3 separate regions of the Homo sapiens genome follow, and regions 1 and 2 are each linked to region 3. Evidence: promoter capture Hi-C in 16 types of primary human blood cells and fetal thymus (Javierre and others, 2016). All regions are on one chromosome and are shown on one strand. Each heading gives the region's core, a stretch centred on a gene start or on the middle of the fragment in contact. The rest is flanking DNA. Distances are from core to core; before and after follow the strand shown. Region 1 overlaps GRIK4 (glutamate ionotropic receptor kainate type subunit 4). Region 2 overlaps GRIK4 (glutamate ionotropic receptor kainate type subunit 4). Region 3 holds the start of GRIK4 (glutamate ionotropic receptor kainate type subunit 4).

Region 1 (3,058 bases), core at 125-2,624, 390 kb after region 3:
ACCCACTCCCATTCTACCTAGAGCAGGCGCAAATCGGAAAACATTGGAGGGTGATTGTGTGGGCCCTGGCATGAGAGCAGGGGAGTTCTGAGACATGGGTTGGCACAGAAGGAGGCAGTGTGACTCTGCGGACAAAGATGACTAGGTGAGGTGGAAGATGGGGGAGTGTGTGGAGAGTTTGTGCAGGGAGAAGCCCTTGTGCTGAGGACGGCGTGTGTGGAAGGCAGGCTGACCGTTCCTATCTCATTGACGTGACAGTGGACTCATCCAGAATCAGAATCACGTCACCTTCCACTCAGAGCTCCCGCTCCCTGACACATGACCTTTGCCTTCTGGCTGCCCACTTCATCACGCCCACATCCTGCTCTCCCTCACAGTCCCTCCATGACCTTGTGTCTGTCTGGCCCTCCATCTTCCCCAGCCTAGAAGTCCTTCTCAGAACGAGCTCAGCCCATCAGGATTTCAGTGCTTTCCTCTCTGGGCTCCTAGAATCGTGATGTGCAGGTTTCTCCATGCACACCTGTACCCAAGCCCGATTGTCCCTGCCACCCCTGCTCCCAGCTGCCTGTCTGCATCCAGCCTCCCCTCTGCAGCCGGGCCTTGGTAATCCCTGAGCCCAGCTCTCCTCTGTCCCTGTCGCATCCCCTGAGCGGCTCTGCTGAAAATCTTCCCACACACCAAGACTCAAGCCTATCTGCCCCACTTTCAGCACAACTCTGGGGCCAGCACGAGCTCCCTTCTCTCTGTGAACCCACCCATACCCTCTACCTCACCTCCAGGCTCAGGCCTCAACCTCACCCCGCCCCACCCTGCCTCCACCCTGCACTTCCTGGGCCCTTGCTCCACCAGCTAGCATGGTTCTTTCCTCCTCTTTTCTCCCCTTTTCCAGGGATTTTCCCTTCCTGCCTGTAAATACACCCTGGACTGTCCCATCCTAAAACACCATCGCCTTCACCTTTCCTACACCCTGCTGCCCTTCAAGCTGCCCTCCAACGTAGGGAGTCACAGAATCACAGAATTGGGTGGGCCCCTGGGACCCCCAGCCCTGCTGTTTGCGGTGGGGAAGGAGCTTGGAGGAGAGGCGATCTGCCCTCTCTGTGCCTGCCGCCTTGCCTCCCTTAGCTCCTAACCTGTCAAAATGCTGAACAGCCCTCACTCCTGTGGCACTCGCTCAGTCCTCATCCTACGGAGTCCTGCTGCCCCCACCACGCCTGCCTTCAAAAGGTCGGCAGTGACACATGATCAACACGCTGGTTCCCAGCCCTGCTAGGTCTGTGAGAATGGTGGGAGTGGCTACATCCTCTATCTTCCAATTTCCTCCTCCTTGACGCTAAGATCATGTTCCCCTGATTTTCAGCCTTCCTGGCTGCTTCTGTGTTGTCTTCTGTGATTGCCCTTCATTTCCCCACTCTCTAAGACCAGGTTCTCCCCAGGGCCTCTTCTTCTTCCTCTTCTGCCCTTTCTCAACTCTTCCCCTTGACGGTCTCACATATTCCCCAGCTTCAGCCTTGATCTCTGTACATGTGCAATCTCTGGCCCCTGTCTTACCCTTGCTCCACATTTTAAACACCCAGTGGGTCACTTCTGCCTGCGTAGCCTGCCAGCACCTCAGATTCAACCTGTTCCAAATCCTCCTCCCCTCCAGGCATTCGAGCCCATCATGACACCACCCTCTGTTAGTCATCCACCGGGCTCCAAGGCTCTGAGGACCCACACCCAACCAACCAGTTATCAGACCTGTTCCTTTCTGTGCCTCTTACATCCTTCTGGCTTTCTCCAATCCAACCTGCAGCCCAGGATTCAGGGTCTCATCTCAGGAGAGGGTCTGTCCTCACCCCTGGATGCTTCCTCTCCTACTACTTAGTATTCCTTACTCGCAGCCTTGCGTCTTTAAAACGCTTGATGCTTCCCCCCTATACCTTGTGTAATGTGCAGCCACCACTTCCTGGCATCTGAGTCCCATCCATCTACATTTCTCCTCCCATCTCGCCCCTGCTCACAACCTGTGCTCCGGCTACCCTGGAAGGTCCATCGTCCACTGAGCAGCCACTCAGGATCATGCCCTTGATTGTGCCTTCCCCTGGCCCATGCCTTTCATTCACAGCCCTTCCATCTCTCAGTGTTCTGCCTCCTCCAGAGCCCAGCTTGGATCCCACCTTCAGCTTGGAGCCTTCTCTGGACATCTCACTGGAGAGACCTGCCCTCTTCCCAATGCCCTCCTTGGACTGCAGTTGCACATGTACCTGTTCTTACCTAGCCTGCTTATTGCAGACATCCTTATATCTCTGATAATGCCCAGCCATTGGTCTGCCTGGAATAAAGCAGGGGTAGAAAAAAAAGAGAGAGATAGATAGTGGGGTCAGATGATGACCTTAAACAAGTTGAAGCAGCTTGAGCCTGACCCTCCATGCAGTGGGAACCACTGTGTGTTCCTGACAACAGAAGCACCTTGAAGGACAGCTTTAAGGAGCACATCAGGGAGAGGAGCTGGTCATCACCCCAAAGTAGCCCATTACCCACGTCAGTTTCCTCCTTCTGCCCCATGTCCTCCCCGACCCTCTGTGCCCCTGGCCCTCCCCATCACACGCGGGTGAGACACCAGGGCTAAGATGAGAATGACAGCTGCCCAGTTTTGCTGCAGGAGAACCCATATTTAATGCTGAAGGGGAACCACCAGGAGATGGAAGGCAATGACCGCTACGAGGGCTTCTGTGTGGACATGCTCAAGGAGCTGGCAGAGATCCTCCGATTCAACTACAAGATCCGCCTGGTTGGGGATGGCGTGTACGGCGTTCCCGAGGCCAACGGCACCTGGACGGGAATGGTCGGGGAGCTGATCGCTAGGGTAAGGAGAGGACAAGTGATCTGGGCCTGAGGGTGGGCTGGGAGGGATTGGAAGAGCATGAGGTTGTGCTGCACGCTCATGAACCCTCCATTTGTTCAGTCAATCATTCATGCATTTGTCATTTATTTGTCCACTCATTCTATAAATCTTGCCTGGACTGGCACAGACGTGCGGTGGTGGATAAGCCTGCAATGATCCCTATCCCGTGGCTTT
Region 2 (2,700 bases), core at 82-2,581, 420 kb after region 3:
CAGAAAGCTGGGGTGAGGAGGTGTACTGTAAAAAGGTCAGAGAAGAAAGATCTGGAAGCTGATCAGAGATAGAAGAGAGGATCTGAAAGAGGATTCAGAGGGAGCTGGAGAGGCCATTTAATTCATTCTCCCCAAAGGAGAATCATGTTTGGAGGAAGGGACTGGGGAGAATGACTGGCTTTCCAAGCTAGGTACTGGATTTTTCCCAGAGTTTTCCAAAGGACTGGACAGCATGAGGTCTGGGAGGCCTGGACCCCACATAGGTCCACATAGACAGACGGTCACACCAGAGAAGCACATTGTGTCAACACAGCTGTGCATGTGCTCCAGGTCACCCGGGAAAGGCCGCAGGGGCCAGAGTGGGGGACGCGGTGACCAGTTAGGGCTGCACATACACAGAACAGGTCTGCCTGCCTCCAAACATGCCCACAACTCATCATAAGGTCTCCATAAGCCCTTGCTAAGATGATCCTCATTGTCAAGTTCAGCAGCAGCATCATTGTCATCCCAACAGCAAAGACTTACTGGCTACTTACTTCAAACCAGGCCCCATGCTCAGCATTTACAGACATGGCCTCATTCATCTTCTCAACAATTGTAGGAGCTAGGTACTCTTATTATACCCGCGTTACAGATAAGCAAACTGAGGCTTAGAAAAAGTTGAATAAATGACTTGTCCAAGGTCATACAACAGGTAAGTGAGTGCGAGTCCAGGTAGTTCTAAGCCACACTGAAAACTAAGTTCAGTTACCCCCTCTACTGCCTTAATAGCCCCTTATTGATATGGCAGCGCTCTACAGTGTTATGATTTATAAGGCTCTTCTACAACCATCATCTCTTTTGACTCTCACATAATATTGATAGGCTGGTATTGCCCCATTTTACAGTGGAGAAAAATGAGTCCCAGAGAAGGGAAGTAAATTGCACATGGCCATTTGGACGGCAAGGAGCAGAGGCACTGGCAGTTCTCCTGACCCGTCCCATCCTCCCATTAGCATGGCTGTATGTAAGGGAGGGCAGCCAGGCCAGGTGGAGGAGGCAGGCCTGAGGCTGCAAGAGGTCATAGCCAGGCGCGGTGGCTCACACCTGTAATCCCAGCACTTTGGGAGGCCAAGGCGGGTGGATCACGAGGTCAGGAGATCGAGACCATCCTGGCTAACACAGTGAAACCCCATCTCTACTAAAAATATAAAAAAATTAGTCGGGCATGGTGGCGGGCGCCTGTAGTCCCAGCTACTCAGGAGGCTGAGGCAGGAGAATGGCGTGAACCCGGGAGGCGGAGGTTGCAGTGAGCCGAGATCACGCCACTGCACTCCAGGCTGGGTGACAGAGCGAGACTCCGTCTCAAAAAAAAAAAAAAAAAAAAAAAAAAAGGTCAGCGTCATGGTGCTAGGGCACTGCTGAGTGGGAGGGAGGGAATTTTGCCCGAAAGGGGGCAGCAGCTGTCTGAAAAAGAAGGGAGGGAGATGAGAAGGCTTTGCTGTCTTCGGATGCTCCCAGATCTGGTATTGCCGTTAGACCACTCCTCATGCCATTCTCAGGAAGCCCGGAGTGGGAGCAGGGGGCCCAGGCAGACGCAGACCACAGCCTTATTGTGAAGGCTCATCTTCCTCCCAGCCAGGCTCATGTCCCAGGAGAAGAGCAGTGGCCACGCCAAGCCTTCAGGCTTTGACAGAAATGGTGGCAGCTGCACGGCCCCTATTAATCTCCAGGAGGCCAAAGAGAGTATGTTTTGGAAGTCACCTCCAGGCTGGCTCCCGCCTGCCCTCCCCTTGTAAACTCTACAAACATCCAGGAGATAAAAGAGGGGATCTCTCAGAGGCAGAACACAAAGCTCTTCAAAGAACACTTTCAGTCAAAAATAGGGAGAGGAGAGAGGTCTTTCTCTCGGAGGGAATGTATTTATATACCCCTGTGGGGGCGCACATCCGCCCCATGCCACAGCCGGGCACATGGGATGCGTGGAGCACTCTCTGCTTCCCTTCACCTGTCCTTTTCTTTCTCCGGAGACCTACCCTGTGGCTCTAATGGTCCCAGCTTTTTCTGGTTTTCCATCCCCCCTGGGTTACGATTTTAGACCTGCCTTCCCCAGATGGCCCCTTCCTGAATTTCTTTCCCTAAAATCAAATGTCCCTGCTAGCTGCTGCTCTTCACTGACGAGTCTGGTCATCAGTTTCCTCCTCAGAGCGTTCAATACTGCTGACCGCCATCATCCACTTAAGCAAAGTGGGGACCACTCATGTAAGCGCTGTCTCTTCTAGTCAGGCACATTAAAGCAGGGGATTTGACAGCTGGAAAGGAGCTTAGAGAGCCTCTGCTTGAACCCTTTCATTTTACAGTTGAGGACACTATTCCAGACGGTGGAATAATTTGCCTAAGGTCGTGATGAGGTTGTGGCCCACAAGTGACAAGAGTCAGGGCTGCTTTTTGGTTTAAAATGTTAAAACTTTGGGAGGCCAAGGCAGGTGGATCACCTGAGGTCAGGAGTTCGAGACCAGCCTGGCCAACATGGTGAAACCCCGTCTCTACTAAAAATACAAAATTAGCCGGGTGTGGTGGTGCACACCTGTATTCCCAGCTACTTGGGAGGCTGAGACAGGAGAATCACTCGAATGTGGGAGGTGGAGGTTGCAGTGAGCCAAGATCGCACCACTGCATTGCAGCCTGGGCAAGACAGAGCAAGACTCTGTCTCAAAAAAA
Region 3 (2,828 bases), core at 211-2,710:
TCACTGGCTTACAGGTGCTCTTAAACCTTAACAGGTTTAACATCCTCTGTAAAATGGGACTAGTGTCACCTCAACACCTACCTTGCAAAGTTGATTATTGGGAATCACACTTGTGTAAGCGGTATAGTCTTGGCAAACAGTAGGTGCTAAATAATGTCTGGCTGGAGGAATGGAGCCCTGTTCGCATATGGCATTCATCCAGCCAGTGTGTGGAGCTGGGGGAGGGATAGGCACGACTCCTGAAGCAGGAGGCCCAGTACGCGCCCAGGCTAGCCAGCCAGCCCTCCCCGGGGAATGCAACGTCCAGAACAGTCTATAGTCCCGATAGTATGCCTCATGCGTGAGACCTGACCAAGGACGTCTGTGAACAAACCCTTCACAGAGAGCTTAATGAGATTGTGGGAGTGCTGGTGGTTGGGTGTGGGGATACAGGCCATTGAAGGTGAGAGGGCCGGTGTGATCAGTTTGGTGGTCTGCCCAAGACAGAGACTCTGCGGGTTGGATAAGAGGGAGCTAATAGGTTTGAGGGGGTCACGTGTCCCTTGCCCTCCCTCCTATTCCCCCAGGACTCCCTCTTCACCCAGCCTCCTCCTAAGGGCAACTCTGTTGTATTAGGATGAACCACACGGTGTACTGAAATGAACCGCGCGTCAGAAAGCGGGGTTGCCTCCTGGGTCCTGCCACTTGCTCCCCGTGTGTTCTTGGCCTGGTCCCTTCACCTCTCCTAGCCTCAGGATCTTCATGCGTAACATGAGATCCTCCCAAGATGTTGGTATGTATACAACAGTGCTCTGGAATGACTCCATGCAAGCTGTTGCTCTTCAGTCTCCTGAACAAGGTGCTCTTGTCTCGTCCCATGAAACCTCCACCTCTCCATCTTCCGCACCACTGAGGCCGCAGTCTCTTCTAACGGGGCACGCTCGTCCCCCGCGCTGTTTCCCGAATGCCACCAGGGGGCGCCCCTTGCTCGCTGAAGCCGCCGGGCTAATAACTCCTCGGGGCCGGGGCGGGCTGCCCCTTTGCGCAGGGCGGTGGAGTGTGCGGGCTGCGCCGGGTTCCCCACCTGAGGTCCGTACCTCGCAGAGCCCGCTTGGCCGCGCGCCCCTAGCCTCTGCCGGGCGCCGCTCCCCAGCCGGGCGCCTCTCGCTCGGCCCCGGGCCCCCGGGCAGCCGCAAGTTTGCCCCCGGCCGCGCGGACCCGCGCCCGCCCTGCCCGCAGCAGCCCCCGCCGTTCCCGCCGCCCCCGCCGCCCCCGCGCCTGGGCTCCCGGGCGACGCTCCGAGGGGCGCTGGGGGGCGCGTGCAGCTGCCCGCGGGGCTCCGGCCCGGCCCCGAAGGGGCGCCCCCCCGGCCGGCCGTGCGCGGGGCCGCAGCAGTTCCCCAGCTGCCCGCCGGGCGGCGCCCCGCGCCTCGCTGCGCTCCTCCCGCGCTCCCCGCGCCGGGCTCGCTCGCAGCCGGACACAGACTGCCTTCAGCTGCGGGCGGATCGGGCTGGAGCCGCCACGGCTGCTGCGGAAGAGGAAAAACGGCCAACAGCAGCCCCGCGGCCGGCCCGGCAGCGCCCGGCCCCCGGCTCAGCCCCCGGAGTGCGGAGCCGACCAGGTAAGGGCAGCGGCCCCCCGCGGCGCCCCCGGCCCGCTCCCTGCGCTGCCCCCGCGCCCCCGAGTCCCCTCCGCGCTGGCCCTTCCCGCACCCCGACTTCTGACGTCTCCGCCGCTCCTGCCCTCGGGGGCCGCGGCCCCGCACCCCTGCCCCGGCCCCCGCCCCCGCGCCCTCCTCCCCGCTCCCGCCTCCCGCCAGCCCGGTCCCTGGCACTTCGGTCCCTGCGTCTCCAGATTCGCCGCCGAACCCCCCACCGCTCTGCTCCCGTAGTTCCTCCAGTCTTCACCCCGGTCCGTCTCCCTCCCTCCGCATCCCTTCCCCGGGCTCGCGGTCCTCCCGCTCTGGTCCTCCCCCTCCCCGTGCAACTCCCAGCCCTGCCTCTGTCCCCTGCAGGGATGACAGCCCCTTCCCAGCCTGGCGCGTCTCCCCTACACCTCGTCACCCTCCGCTTCTCCCAGCGCCTCTGTTCCCCGGCTGCAGCCCCCCATCCCGGCTCAGCCTGGCATCCCACCAAGCCCCCTCCCCCTTTCCTCACTGCCATCTGCCTCGACTGCCCCCTGCCCCTGCACTGGACTCGGGCCACCACCACACCCCCCCACCCTGCACACCGCCTTGCTTGGGGGAACCAGCGTCCTATCAGAAATGATCCTCTTTCCCGGGGAGAATGGGGCTCCCACCCATCCCACCCTAGTTCATCCGAGTGGGAAGTGAGGGAGAAACTCTAGAGACCTGCAATGGGCGCGTGATGGGGGAGGGGGCTGGGGCGGAGGGGGAGGGGAGCTGATTTAGATTCTCTTCAGTGAGGACTGGCAGAGCTGTGCGCTCCGACCTGGCTGGGGTGGAGGGCGTGCAGGCGACAGCTGGGACAGGGGGTTCAAGGCACTGAGAGCACCTGTGTCTCTTTCCCTGGCTCCCTTGAGCTGAGCAAAGTGAGGGGAGGAGTTGGAGCCTGGGGAGAGTTGGCTGAGGGCCTTGGGGTGGTGGAGGAGGCGGCCGAGGGGGCTGGGCCCCGGGCGCCTCTGGCCCGTCTGCCTGGCAGTGGTGGGGCAATGCGGGCCGAGCCACTCCCGGGCTGGACCTTGGGCTGCGTGGCTCTTGGCATCTGTACTTGATGCTGCCATCTTCCTCTTGGTGCTGTTGTCTGGTGATGCCACGCGGTGCCACCTCCCTGCCTCCCTCCAGTGGCTCTCCTGGGCATGTCTCCCAAGGGTCTGGGTTGTCTGGGAAG

Evidence for each region. The method cuts DNA at HindIII sites, captures the fragments that hold promoters and counts their contacts. A CHiCAGO score of 5 or more calls a contact.
Region 1: a contact is called between a fragment that was not itself captured here and the fragment with the promoter of GRIK4 in region 3, in 1 of 17 cell types (endothelial precursors). The highest score is 6.0, in endothelial precursors.
Region 2: a contact is called between a fragment that was not itself captured here and the fragment with the promoter of GRIK4 in region 3, in 6 of 17 cell types (megakaryocytes, endothelial precursors, M2 macrophages and 3 more). The highest score is 10.9, in megakaryocytes.

The regions. Positions count from the first base shown.
Region 1 is chr11:120,902,649-120,905,706 of GRCh38, forward strand. GRIK4 (glutamate ionotropic receptor kainate type subunit 4) reads left to right here. Exons shown (of 21, transcript NM_014619.5): 13 at 2,642-2,845. Among named protein-coding and RNA genes, the nearest start is that of TBCEL, 120 kb to the right of the region's middle. The HindIII fragment of the contact is 4,939 bases long and covers 1-3,058 here.
Region 2 is chr11:120,932,859-120,935,558 of GRCh38, forward strand. All of the region lies in intron 13 of GRIK4 (glutamate ionotropic receptor kainate type subunit 4), which reads left to right. Among named protein-coding and RNA genes, the nearest start is that of TBCEL, 90 kb to the right of the region's middle. RefSeq lists an enhancer at 1,262-1,556. The HindIII fragment of the contact is 3,000 bases long and covers 1-2,700 here.
Region 3 is chr11:120,510,288-120,513,115 of GRCh38, forward strand. It overlaps GRIK4 (glutamate ionotropic receptor kainate type subunit 4), which reads left to right and starts at 1,461. Exons shown (of 21, transcript NM_014619.5): 1 at 1,461-1,600. RefSeq lists silencers at 1,072-1,151, 1,332-1,531. The HindIII fragment of the contact is 5,980 bases long and covers 1-2,828 here.